Linked DNA regions of Homo sapiens: region 2 is linked to region 1. The links are contacts of gene promoters, found by promoter capture Hi-C in blood cells and fetal thymus (Javierre and others, 2016). All regions are on one chromosome and are shown on one strand. Each heading gives the region's core, a stretch centred on a gene start or on the middle of the fragment in contact. The rest is flanking DNA. Distances are from core to core; before and after follow the strand shown.

Region 1 (5,979 bases), core at 2,271-4,770:
ATAATGCTCTAGGAGCTACCTATTTTGTTTGTTTTTGAGACAGTCTTGCTCTGTTGCTCAGATTGCAGTGCAGTGAGATGATCATGGCTCACTGTGGCCCCAACCTTCCGGGCTCAAGTGATCCTCCTGCCTCAGCCTCCCAAATAGCTGAGACCACAGGTATGTACCACCATGCCCAGATAATTTTTTTATTTTTTAGGAGGGATACAGTCTCCCTATGTTGCCCACACTGATCTCGAACTCCTGGGCTCAAGTGATCCTCCTACCTTGGCCTCCCAAAGTGCTGGGATTACAGGTGTGAACCACCATGTCCAGCCTTCCGTCACTATTAACATGTCTATTCCCTCCAGTCTTTTTGCTATATGTGTATGTTACATATAATATAAACAAAGTCATGTTTTATACCCTGCTTTTTCACTTAATATTGTGCCATGAGCATTTTCCCATGTTATTAAAAATAATATTCGGCCAGGCGTGGTGGCTCACGCCTATAATCCCAGCACTTTGGGAGGCCAGGGTGGGCGGATCATGAGGTCAGGAGATGGAGACAATCCTGGCTAACATGGTGAAACCCCGTCTCTACTAAAAATGTAAAAAATTAGCCAGGTGTGGTGGCATGCGCCTGTAGTCCCAGTTACTCGGGAGGCTGAGGCAGGAGAATAGCGTGAACCCAGGAGGCAGAGCTTGCAGTGAGCCAACATCCCACCACTGCACTCCAGCCTGGGTGACAGAGCGAGACTCTGTCTCAAAACGAAAAACAAAAAACACAATATTCATGGCTAATTAGTTTTTTATTATGTAACTGTAACATTCAGTTTCTTGCCTCTTTTAATTATTATAACACTTTGATAAATATTTCTGTGAGAAATTATCTATTGCATATATTATATAATATTTATTATAAAGAATCAGATTTTTTTTTTTTTTTAGAATAGATTACTAGAAATCATAGTATTAGGTCAAACATTGTCAAATCGCTTCCTAGGAAGGTGTACCAATCTTATCACATTCTCTTACAATGTTGTTTATCCCAATTTGAGAAGGGAGCATTGGTATTTTTTTGTTGCTATAATGTGTGCCTTTATTATTTCTAGTGAAGTTGAACACTTTTTGACATGCTTATTGGTCTGTGGTATTTATTCTTCTGTGAAATATATTTGATTTTTTACCTATTTTTTGCGTGAAGTTTTCCTTATTGGTTTGCAAGACATTTTTATGCATCAAGAATATTAAATCTGCCACATTTGCTGCTAATATTTTACCTGGTTTATACAGCCTTTTAATTATGCCAATGTTATTTTAATTGCACCAAATTTTACATTTTTATGTGGTCCAGTCTCTACTCCTGTGATTTTTTTTCTTATTGTATTTAGAAATGCCTTCCTCATCAAAGCATAATTAAGTATTCCCCATATTTTCTTCTAGTATTTATGGTTTCATTTTTTACATTTAACTTTGTCAGATAACAAAACTGATAAGGCAGAAAATTTAAATGAGGTAAACTGACCATTGCAACAGAATATATTTTTCACTTTTCAAAATCTCACTTATCATATCACAAGTATGAATACTTGTGCTAATAAATAAATTATGGCCTCTCATATGGAAGTGCTATGTTCACCTTCTGTCTTCCTCAGCCCACATCAGCTCATTCATTGCTGTATTTGATACAGCTTGATCTCTAGCCTGAAACCTGCAGAGTTCCTATGCTAATCCTATCCTGGGCAGAAAATATGTTAAAAGCCTCAATCCAGCTGTAGGTGGAATGTAGCTTTATTCATGTCACCATTATCTTAGTGGCTAATATCCTGCAGTAACTCTGGCACCACATACCCACCAGATTCTAGATTTCTCCTAGCCTCTGCTGTGTCATCTTAATCCATAGGATTGGACATTAGCTTTGTTTTTTCCTTAGTACTATATTTTCCTGATGTAACTGAATTCCTGCCTTGAGGCTTCCTAGACCTTGTCATAGCTTTCCTTCTAGAGAGCTGGATTTAACCCTTGGCAGTGGACGATCTCTTGGAACCTGACGCCATTTCCTGCTTACTCCCGAGCATTGTTTCCTCTCTGGACCTCCTCCTTGCTTAGCCTTCATCAGGCTGGATGGATCTCTCCATCAGAACTTGCCAAAACCAAGCCCAAACTTTCATGCTTTTTAATATTGTGCCCTTGATGTGGTCGACTTATGGGTGGTACACCGGACATCCAGGTTACTGCTCAGATTACAATTTCAACTCACCCATAGACAATTTACAGATTGATTTGGCTAAATGTTATGGAAACAGAACCAAAAGGCACTTTTCTGTCTTTATTACTATTTCTTAAGGTGATGTGTATGTGGAGTTAACTATATATAATGGTCCCATAATTACCCTTTTGGGAAACAAAAGTCTTTGTGTGTTTTTAGATAAAGGTAGCAAAATGGAAACTCCCTATTGCTTTTCTAAGCACGCCTTCCTTTGCACCCCCATCTTCTGTGGCTGTTTTAGCCAGAAATGATACATCATTACTGTCTTTAAGGAGATGGAGAGGACTGTGGCTTTAACACATAGTGGAGGGAGCTCTGTAGTCTCATTCTTGCTGACAACTTTTCAGTGTCAACCAACTATAGTTTCCTATTGGTGAAGTTTTCACTTTTTCAGAGTCTTTCTGGGCTTGTTCTTTGATCACCCTCATCTGAAGAGGAAGCAGGAAAGAACTGTTGCCCTCTTTGAACTCTTAGAGAATTCATGGTTTATTGTATCAATTTGTTATCGACCACAGATTATCTTGTTAACTTTTGGTATCTGTCATTTTATTCTCCCCAACCAGGTGGAAATGTACCCTGTTTAGGCCCAGGACCTACCTTAGCAACCTTGATTGGCTCACAAGCCAGGTTGCTTAAGACTTGTTTCCCCAGCAGCTGGTGTCCCTACTTCCTGCCTAGCCCTTTTCCTTTTGCTTTGTCTGTGCTTGGGAAATACATGTTATACTCTGTAGAGCAGATTTGCTGGCAGTAAGAACAGAGATGTGTAGAGCCCAGCGTGCTGGAGGGCTCTCTGCATCTGGCTGTGAGTGGCCCCTGGACTGGGACCGTGGGAGGACAGCTTTCCATAGTTTAACATAAATGAACCACACCATAAGGACAATCTGCTCTCATTTCACTCAACTAGGATTTAGTGAGTACTGTTAAAGCACAGTTTGCACTGGAGTAATTGGAGAATGGAGTTTGCCCTTCACAATCTGTGCACAATCTGTTAGCAGCTAAAAACAAATGTTAGCAGTTATAATTACCATCAATTTGTCTCCAGGCTTGGATCACATTCCAGGTGTTAGAAGAGATGGTCCATTTCCTTTTTTTTCTCCTTTAAGTCCCATGCCCTGTTTCAAGTAGCTTCAGAAGGCAATTGTGCTGTAAAGATTCACCTTGTAATGGGTTCAGGACTCTTTCACAGTTTGTGTCTATTCGTTCATTTGAACTTTGCTGTTCCAAGTTAGAAAGCCCTTGCTGAGGTGTGGCTACCTCTAAGAACACTGTTGATTGGGTGCCATGGTAACGTTTGCAAAGTAGCTACTGCTAGGATACAGCTCTGACACTTATTACTTTATTTGCATATCAAGCCACCTGTTCCAAAGATGAAAATATACAGGACTGCATATCCCAGTCTGGGTAAAAGGATAATAGCTGACTGTTGAAGAGAACATGTTGCAGTTTTTCTCCTGCTAGCTGAAGAATCAAGTTCTGAGGGCCTGCTCCTCAGCACCTTTCTCCTGGTCTAGAGTAGGTGCCAGGCCTGGCGGTTCTGTTGCCTGCGTGGGTGCCAGGGCTTCTCCTTGGGAGGCTTGCCCTCTGTGAGAGGGAGCAGAGAGTTGACTTCCTCCAAGAGGCCCATAGTCCCTGAAGGGGGTGTTTTTGATTCTGTCTAAACCTAGGCTATGTGTTAGCGGTTTCCCTCCTCTTAGAAATTGCCTGGAAGACTCTTGCTATTGGTATGTATGTGGTTCCCTCCAGTTTAAGACAAGATTTGTTCCAGGATCGGTTGTAGCCCCTTCTCTGTGGCTAACGGAAGAGCCACTTGTCCTTCTCCATTCTTTTCCTTAGTCTCCCTTGACCCCCACATCATCTCCTAGACACAAGGCACATTGATAGTCACAATTCACTGTCAATCACTCTGGATTATTCCCTCATTCCCCTTTCCCAGGCCACCTGAAGGAGTGAGTGGGGATTGCTATTGTGTACATTCCAGTAATAACTATTGGCTGTAAGCAGACATACTCTAAAAATAACTCAGGGATACTGAGCACCCAGAGGGCACCTTCTGTCTTCTCGAAGCTTCGCCACGCCTGTTTCCACTGTCAGACTTCCAGTCTGCACCACAGCACACATCCTTTCTCATCCAGAGTGCTCCTACTAGACGAGATGTTTTTGTCTCCTAAGGGCCTCAGGTGTATTCATGAACTCCTCAGCTGGTTATTTTCAGTTTCATCTTCCTTGGTGCTTGCTCTGGCACATGGTCACTGCTGCATCCTGTCCCTTCCCCACAGTTTGCCATGGGTCATCCCTTTTTTCTCATTGCTTGCATCTTCTAACTGAATGAACTTGTAAATATGGAACTGAAAGTCAATCCTCATAGCTCATCTTTTATTTAATCCTAATAAATGACAATCTATTGCAAACATTACTTTAAAAATATTACTTATCAAAAGCTGGGTGAAAGGATAATAGCTGACTGTTGAAGAGAACATGTTGGGGTTTTTCTCCCGCTAGCTGAAGAATCAAGTTCTGAGGGCCTGCTCAGTTCTGTAAGAAAGTATTAGCTGTCTGACAGGTTCCAGTGAGGGGAGGAAAAGACAAAAAATATAGTCCCCAAATCTGCACCAGCATCCCATGTGCACTGTGCACCTTCCATGGTGGATTAGATGCTCAGCAAATGATATACCTATGGAAGGTTAAGCCTAAAGAAACAGGAAAAATGAGCCTTTGTCCACTAGCACATTTATCAATTGCATTTTAGGGTGATTTTAGGGATAGGCAACCCCAATTAGTCATTATTCTTTAAAGGTAGTTGTCTGTTAGATGTAGGAAGACTCCAAGGAATGTTAAGTTGGCAACATTCCATTTAGGTTGCACAGAATGACTTTTAAGACTAAACTTCATCAGGAGGAAATGAAAGGCCTTTACCATGGTTCCTGTTCACAGTGAAATTGACATGTATTGGAAAGGAGATGCTTGGAAGAAATGTCTAGCTTCCCCAACAGACTCCTTTCTTCTCTTTTCTGTCTTCCTTTGTTAATCTGCCATGTTTCATCTTCATTCAGATGAGTTATGATGTATATTATTTATGTAGAGATATTATGAGATTATAATGAAGAAGATTTACAAAGACTAAACTATCCTGCAATGATCTAAATTTTTAAGAGACATTTACTCAGTTTGGCACTCCAAAAATTATTAATCTATGTTCTGACAACCCAGTTTGGGGTATATCCAAGATGGCTTGTGTGTTGCTAGTTACTGCTTATAAGGCAACTTTCTCTTTGGGTGGCAGGAAGTAAAATATTTATAAGTTATTGCTAAAATGTTAAAGTTTTATTTGAACCTACTGTACCCAAGTAATTATATAATTCATCACTTTAGTAGCAGTTTGGTTGACACTGAACAACAATGCTCAAATTCATGTAGCAGTAACAAACTACGTGATAAAAGGAACTGAATTTAGAAAGCAAGCTTCAAGTAAAGATCAGAAGATTAAGTAGATTTCATGGAGCTCACTAAGGAGTTAGATGGGAAAGATGAGATAAGAAAAGCACTGGAGTTGAGACCAAAAGGAGACGAAAAAGCAGAGGGTGGATCTTCGAGCTCGGGGGGTTATAAACAAGATGGCCACAAGGTGGCAGCACAGTCTTAACAGCAGAGAGCTTTCTGTAGGGCCACCCTTAATTTGCTAACACCACAGACTTTCTCTTAGAATTCCTCCATGTTGATTTTCCTCATTA
Region 2 (6,516 bases), core at 2,046-4,545, 570 kb after region 1:
CTTTCCTCTTTAATTAAGGAGTTCTAATGAGTCACAGTCTCACCATGCATGGGACTCAATTATCCTTTATAAATAGGGGATTGTGAATGTGGGATGTGTTTTCTTTTGCAGCCCTGCTGCTATTTCTCCTTTGTTTCCTTCTCCTGGTGCTGCTGCTTCTCTCTGTACACGTGTATGCACATATGTGAAATTGATGACATAAAGAAGATCCAAATCTCTTCGCCTAGTCAACTTGAAGTTGTAAGATTCCTTGAGTGTCATTGAGAAATGTAATAGGGAGTGGGTGGCTTGGCTGGTAGCTTAAATGGTGCCAATGATTGTAAAGTCATAGGTACCATCCCCCAAAAGCCAGAATGATTTCCTCTGTTCTGCTGACACAGAGAGCATCACAAATCTTGGCAAATATATCATTGGTTACATGGTTGATCAGACAAGGCAGGGAGGAGTGAATCGTGTCAAATGGACCACCACCACTGAAACTCAAACCTGCCCCCACGCTGGTGATTTTTGTGGATTCCTTTAAGAGGAATGGTGAGTGTCTTCTAAGAGTAAGAAGGGTTAGCAGTGTTCCAGCTTACCTACAAAATGTGAAACTGAGAAAGCCCACTGGGGCGACTTCCATCTTTATTGCTAAAGAGTAAGAAATAGAGACTTGGTCATTCTCACTGTCATTTTTGTGATTTTTCTGAACCTGAAGGTATATAATGAGGAAAAATGAGACAAATTCAAGCAAAGAGAAATTTGGGCAGAATCTCTGGAGGGAAAAATAATCATGGTGAAATCCATTAGACTACGTAATAGTCATCCCCAAGGGGGATGACGTAAGCCTCATAGTTGCAGTCATTTAAATGTAGACTGAACCATGCATTTGTGAGCAGACCCCAGGGAACAATCCTGCATTGCACAGGGGATAGGGAAAGCGATAGGCCAGATGACCTAATAGATCTTCTGTAACTTAATTTCTAGGGTTGTGGGATCCTAATTAAAATGAACTATATTGCCTGTTATGAACCCTCCATGTTAATATTCTGTAAGGTCTCCAGGCAAGTCAAGGGGGTCTTGGCTTTTTCTTATTTCTTTTGAGCCAGAACCCACAGGCTGCCTTAAGCACCTAGCTGCTGTCCATCACTTCTTATAGCTGACAAAGCTTGACTTAAAAAAAAGTTTTTAAAGAAAATTACAGCACATATTATGAACTAACATTTTATACAAATTAATTGAGTGAAATGAGAGAAGTATGCTTCATTCTTTGACCTGTGATAATAAATATTCTTCCGGTCAATAACACGACGGTGAGTCAGCCCTGCGATGGAGGCAGTTGTCGCCATATAACACACAGGACTCCAATCTGCTTCCTCACATCTAGTGCTGACTTTTCCTTTTAGCTTTAATGATGTTTGAAAGGGAATATTGACGCTGGAAAAATCTTAGAGAGGCTCCACCAATCACAGACGAGCGCAATTCTCCACTAATGTGGGCCTCTTTTCCTTGACTTCCTCTAGACATGGAACTCCACTGAGGATTCTCAGGCAGGGCCACTGGCGAGCTGGCCAGAGCTGCTCTGAGAACCACCAGTGAAGGGCAGAGGGCACTTTAGCCCCAAAAGTAGTAGCAGTTTAGGGCAGGTGGAAGAGACGGGTGGTTCAATTGCCCCATGTGGCGTTTCAGGTGGGCCACATGGGTCAATTGAGTCTTATCAACTTGTGTCTTATCTAGCAATTGAATGCCATTGCTAGATAAGAGTGGTGACCTCCAGCTGGTAAGTTATTTTATCAGCCTTGTCCCATCCCAAGGATCCCCAAAAAGGCCACAGAACTCTGCCAGCAGGAAGTAGACACCGGTGTGCATCAGAGAATATCAAACTCTACCTATTTTAAATTTATAAACTGGATTCTAATTAGCCTGCAGGGAGTTTCCATGGAAATTGGAGATATCACTTTGCAACAGTATAAGATCACAGCATCAAGTAGACGGGAAAAGTGGAAAATCTCTATTCTTTTAGGAATCAGCTGGAGTCACCTCGCTATGAAATTGTCCCTGACCCAGGCAGATTCCAGGTGTTCCCACTTCCATTACAGTATTTGTAGTATGTAATTGTCAGTGTACATATCTACATCCCGCAGACGGGGGAGACACTGTCATTGTTTCTGTTTTTCTCCAGAATATGGCTCAGTTCCTGATACAGAAGACACTTAAAAACAACAACAACAACAACAAAACTTGTTCGATTATTACAGTGATGTCTTAGAACATTGGTTTCTTCATCTATAAAATGGCATAATAATACTAATTCAGTTGGCTGTTCTGAGGATTAAATGCCAGAACAAATAAGTACTTACAACAATGCCCAGCTCCTAAATAATGTGTAGTTCCTATCCCCGCTTATCTTGTGTGAGAGGATTATTTTTGGTTTTGATAGGTATCAGGCAAAAAGGGTTTTTTAAAACAGCAAATAAATCAGAATATTCCACACTTGTAGTCTGCATTTTGTGTTGCCATTTGATTGGGTTTCTAGACTAGGCCAGCATTTTATATTCTGTAAGCATGGTAGAGGTTATATTATCTCCAGCCCCAAATCTTGGACATTAAACCTTTTCCTCATTGCTCACTCGGCTAGATATACATTATTAATAAATGAGATTTCTGAGATGTTTAGACTTGATTCTAAACATTCATGAAATAAACTTGGAGAATGAGTAACTATCATCAGTGATGATAAAAATGAGCTTGGGAAGATACCCTGTGTGTTGATTCTGATGAGAATTTTACCTTTATTGGACACCAGAATATTTCCAGGTATTCCCTGAAAACTCCCCTAGAGATGTCTTAACTCTTCTTTGATGGTTAATATTAAGTGTCAACTTGATTGGATTGAAGGATGCAAAGTATTGTTCCTGGGTGTGTCTGTGAGGGTGTTGCCAAAGGAGATTAACGTTTGAGTCGGTGGACTAGGAGAGACAGACCCACCCTCAATGTGGGTGGGCACCATCTAATCAGCTGCCAGCATGGCTAGAATGAAGCAGACTTGCTGAGTTTTCCGCCCATCTTCTTTCTCCCGTGCTGGATGCTTCCTGCTCTCAAACATCAAACTCAAGTTCTTCAGCTTTTGGACTCTTGGACTTACACCAGTGGTTTGCCAGGGACTCTCAGGCCTTCGGCCACAGACTGAAGGCTGCACTGTCAGCTTCCCTACCTTTGAGGTTTTGGGACTCAAATTGGCTTCTTTGCTCCTCAGCTTGCAGATGGCCTATTGTGGGACTTTACCTTGTGATCATGTAAGTCAATTCTCCTTAATAAACTTTCCTTTATATATACATCTATCCTATTAGTTCTGTCCCTCTAGAGAACCCTAATACACTTTATTTTTACAAAACAAGAAGTGCTTATAGAATGACTTTTCAAGGAGGTTTATGCGATCAAAACACACTACAGTGTGATGCTGGGTTTGCAGGGCGACCATGGAACTGTTGGGCAGAAACTCACATATAGAATAGCCTGCTACCAACCAAAGCCAGGTTTCATCTTTCCCACCAGCAGAATCCACCTCTTCCAAATCCACCCACATCATTGCATGGCCTGCAGGTAGGCTTTTCAGCTTCCTCTGATTGTCATACCAGGCACTGGGCCTATAAAAAGCAAAGCGGAGGCTGAGAGGAGGCAGAGGCAAACACTGAAGGTGTTTCAGAGGCCTATTCCCCCTGTGTATGGTGAGCACAGCACCTGGCAATGGATCGGGCTCTCCCACCCAAGCCCCATGCCCACTCTGGCCCCTTACCCCTCAGCCTTGGTGCCCTGGGTTCCCTAGTTCTTCTGTGGCCTCGACTCCCAACTGTGTGAAACCTGCATTGTCTTGGAGTCAGTGAGCTACTGCCTTCTCTATTTCCTGCTTTTAATTCCAGTTGACTCTTGACTTACAATCATGTATTCTTACTGGAATTGCCTCCCTGAAGGGCAGAAATTCCCTTTCTCCTGCTCTTTTGCCCCATCTGCCCTCTGCTGGCCATCGATAGGTACTGCGGTCAACCCTGAAAAGCCGTTTTTCCCAGTAGCATGTACCGAAGCTGTTTGCTCTTTCCTAATTCAGACGCTTTCTTTTTCTTCTTTTTAAAATTTTGGTTGCATTGCCTCAGAGTTTTTCAAAGCAACACGGAAACACCCTTTCTCTTTCCATGTCCCCAGTGACCATGTCATGGATCTGCCGTAAAGCATCTCTTACAGTAGTGGTCTCCAACCTTTTTGGCACCAGGGACCGGTTTCATGGAAGGCAATTTTTCCATGGACCAGCGGGGTGTGGGGATGGTTTCGGGATGATTCAAGCCCATTACATTTATCGTGTGCTTTATTTCTGTTGTTATCACATTGTAATATGTAATGAAATAATTATATAACTCACTGTAATGTAGAATCAGTGGGAGCCCCTGGCTTGTTTTCCTGCAACTAGAAGGTCCCATCTAGGGGTGGTAGGAGACAGTGACAGATTTCCAGGCATTAGATTCTCATAAAGAGCCTGCCATTAATCTACAGCATCAGTGTTACGCTGTAGAATGGTTCAGAATCTTAGCCACCGAGATCCCTCGCATGCGCAGTTCACAGTGTGGTTCATGCTCCTATGAGAGCCTAATGCTGCCGCTGATCTGACAGGAGGCGGAGCTCAGGTGGTGATGCTGGCTGGCCCACACTCACCTCCTGCTGTGCAGCCCGGTTCCTAACAGATACCAGTCCGTGGCCCTGGGGGTTAGGGACCCCCGTCTTACAGCATCCAGCGGGGCCAGGCACTTGGTTAAGTAGATCCTTGATGACTGAAACGTGACAATGCTGAAATGGCTGTGGAGTACTGTTTGGAGTTTGTGGGGGTGGGGTTTGTAAACTGGAGAACTTTATGTTAGAGTTTCTTATTATTGACATTTGAGGCTAAATAATTCTTTGTTGTCTGAGTCTCTCCTCCACGGTGTAGTATGTTTCGCAGCACCTCTGGCCTCTACCCTCCACGTGCCAGTAGCACCTTCCCCAAGTTTGTTGTCCTCACAGACAACCAAAAATGTCTTCTCTACTCACTCCCAAATGTCCTGGGGGGGCAAAATCACTCACTGCGGAGAACCATGGCATTAGGGTGATGGAGTAGAAAGCCTGCTCTACTCAGAAGGACTTCTAAGTGCCAGAAGGTGCAGGTCTGCTCTCTGGGGCCACTCAGTGCTTTGAAGGACACCTGATTTATTTTGGAGATGGACACTTAACTGCTGAATACACTGGCATGGGTGGGTGGTCCCATCGAGAGTTTTTCTCAAAGGTTTTCAATGACTCCTCTTGTGTTCTCTGGCCTATCCTACTCCAGCTCTCAATTCTGCTAGGCTTGAGTTCCAGCGTCAGAGCCTTTCTGAGCCTCTCTTCTCAGTCTTAGCCTCCCCTCCTTCCCTCTCTCTCCACCCACCTTCTGGCCGTCTGGGAAGCTTCAGCTTCATCCTGCTTCCCCAGCACTGCTCCTCCATCCACCTTTTTTTCTTCCATAGATTCGTTAAAAACATCTTGTCTGAAGGCAGTTCTCCCCTTTCTACATCACCATGGGTTTTTTTTGCAGAATTTTCTTCCATTACAATCACTGATTGTAATCAATTCTCTTTCCCCCAGGTCTCTGCCTCCTCTCTGTCAGGAAGGAGAGAGAGAAGTTAACCACACAGAACTGACCACCCTCTTTACCCAGAAGGAGCTGATCAGCCATCTTTAGGCAGAAGGCTTCCTCCAGCTGCACCCAGATTCCCCTTCTGTCTCCCACAGCACCCTGGGCTTACTTCTCCAGATCATGTAACACCCTGTGCTAAGATTGTTTATCTCTTGTCTGACTTCTTGAGTGGATCATAAGCTCTTTGAATGCAGGCATTGTGTCTTCTCACTCGCAACATCTCCAGTGTTGAGGACAGAAGTGCCCACAGTGCATAGGATATACTCAATAAAGGATTATCAAATGTCATGGAAATAAGGCCTTAATTTAAATTCAGTGGGAAGAGATTTTCTTGAACTTTAAGAAGACTTGGGGACAAAATTTGAACTTCTTGTATGTGTTTCTCCTCAAAGAGCATAGCTCTGCCTTAATTCTTCTGAATCTGACATCGAGCCTCTGGAGTTTACTAGACTCTTAGGCTGGGAAGCTCTTGGTCCATTTTTGATCCACTGCATTCTGCAGTGAGATGAAGCCCATTCCTCTGACATCCCACTTGGTGTGCCATGCTGATAAACCCATAACACTGATGCTGTAGATTAATGGCATGCCTTCACTTATGAACACTTTTTCCCCATGGTGACTAATGGCATTTTGATGGTGTCTCCTTAGACAGCTGCCTAAATATAAAGCAGTATGAGCTAAAAGAATAAATTGAAAATGTCAGTCGTTTTGTGTAATCCTTCCATAATATTATCTGGGAGCCCAGCCTAGCTTTATGGAAATCATTCAGTAGAATCAGACAAGATTTTTCCTACAGCACTTTTATGTTTGCAAAACCATCATCATTGTCAGCTTTAATT

What was found. The method cuts DNA at HindIII sites, captures the fragments that hold promoters and counts their contacts. A CHiCAGO score of 5 or more calls a contact.
Region 2: a fragment that was not itself captured here is called in contact with the fragment with the promoter of APOBEC4 in region 1 in 5 of 17 cell types (total CD4 T cells, naive CD8 T cells, non-activated CD4 T cells and 2 more); the score reaches 8.6 in total CD4 T cells.

The regions. Positions count from the first base shown.
Region 1 is chr1:183,649,796-183,655,774 of GRCh38, forward strand. APOBEC4 (apolipoprotein B mRNA editing enzyme catalytic polypeptide like 4) reads right to left here and starts at 3,521. Exons shown (of 2, transcript NM_203454.3): 1 at 3,277-3,521. It also overlaps a transcript of RGL1 not described here. The HindIII fragment of the contact is 5,397 bases long and covers 1-4,313 here.
Region 2 is chr1:184,218,763-184,225,278 of GRCh38, forward strand. No RefSeq gene overlaps it. Among named protein-coding and RNA genes, the nearest start is that of C1orf21-DT, 160 kb to the right of the region's middle. RefSeq lists an enhancer at 4,671-5,204. The HindIII fragment of the contact is 4,300 bases long and covers 1,146-5,445 here.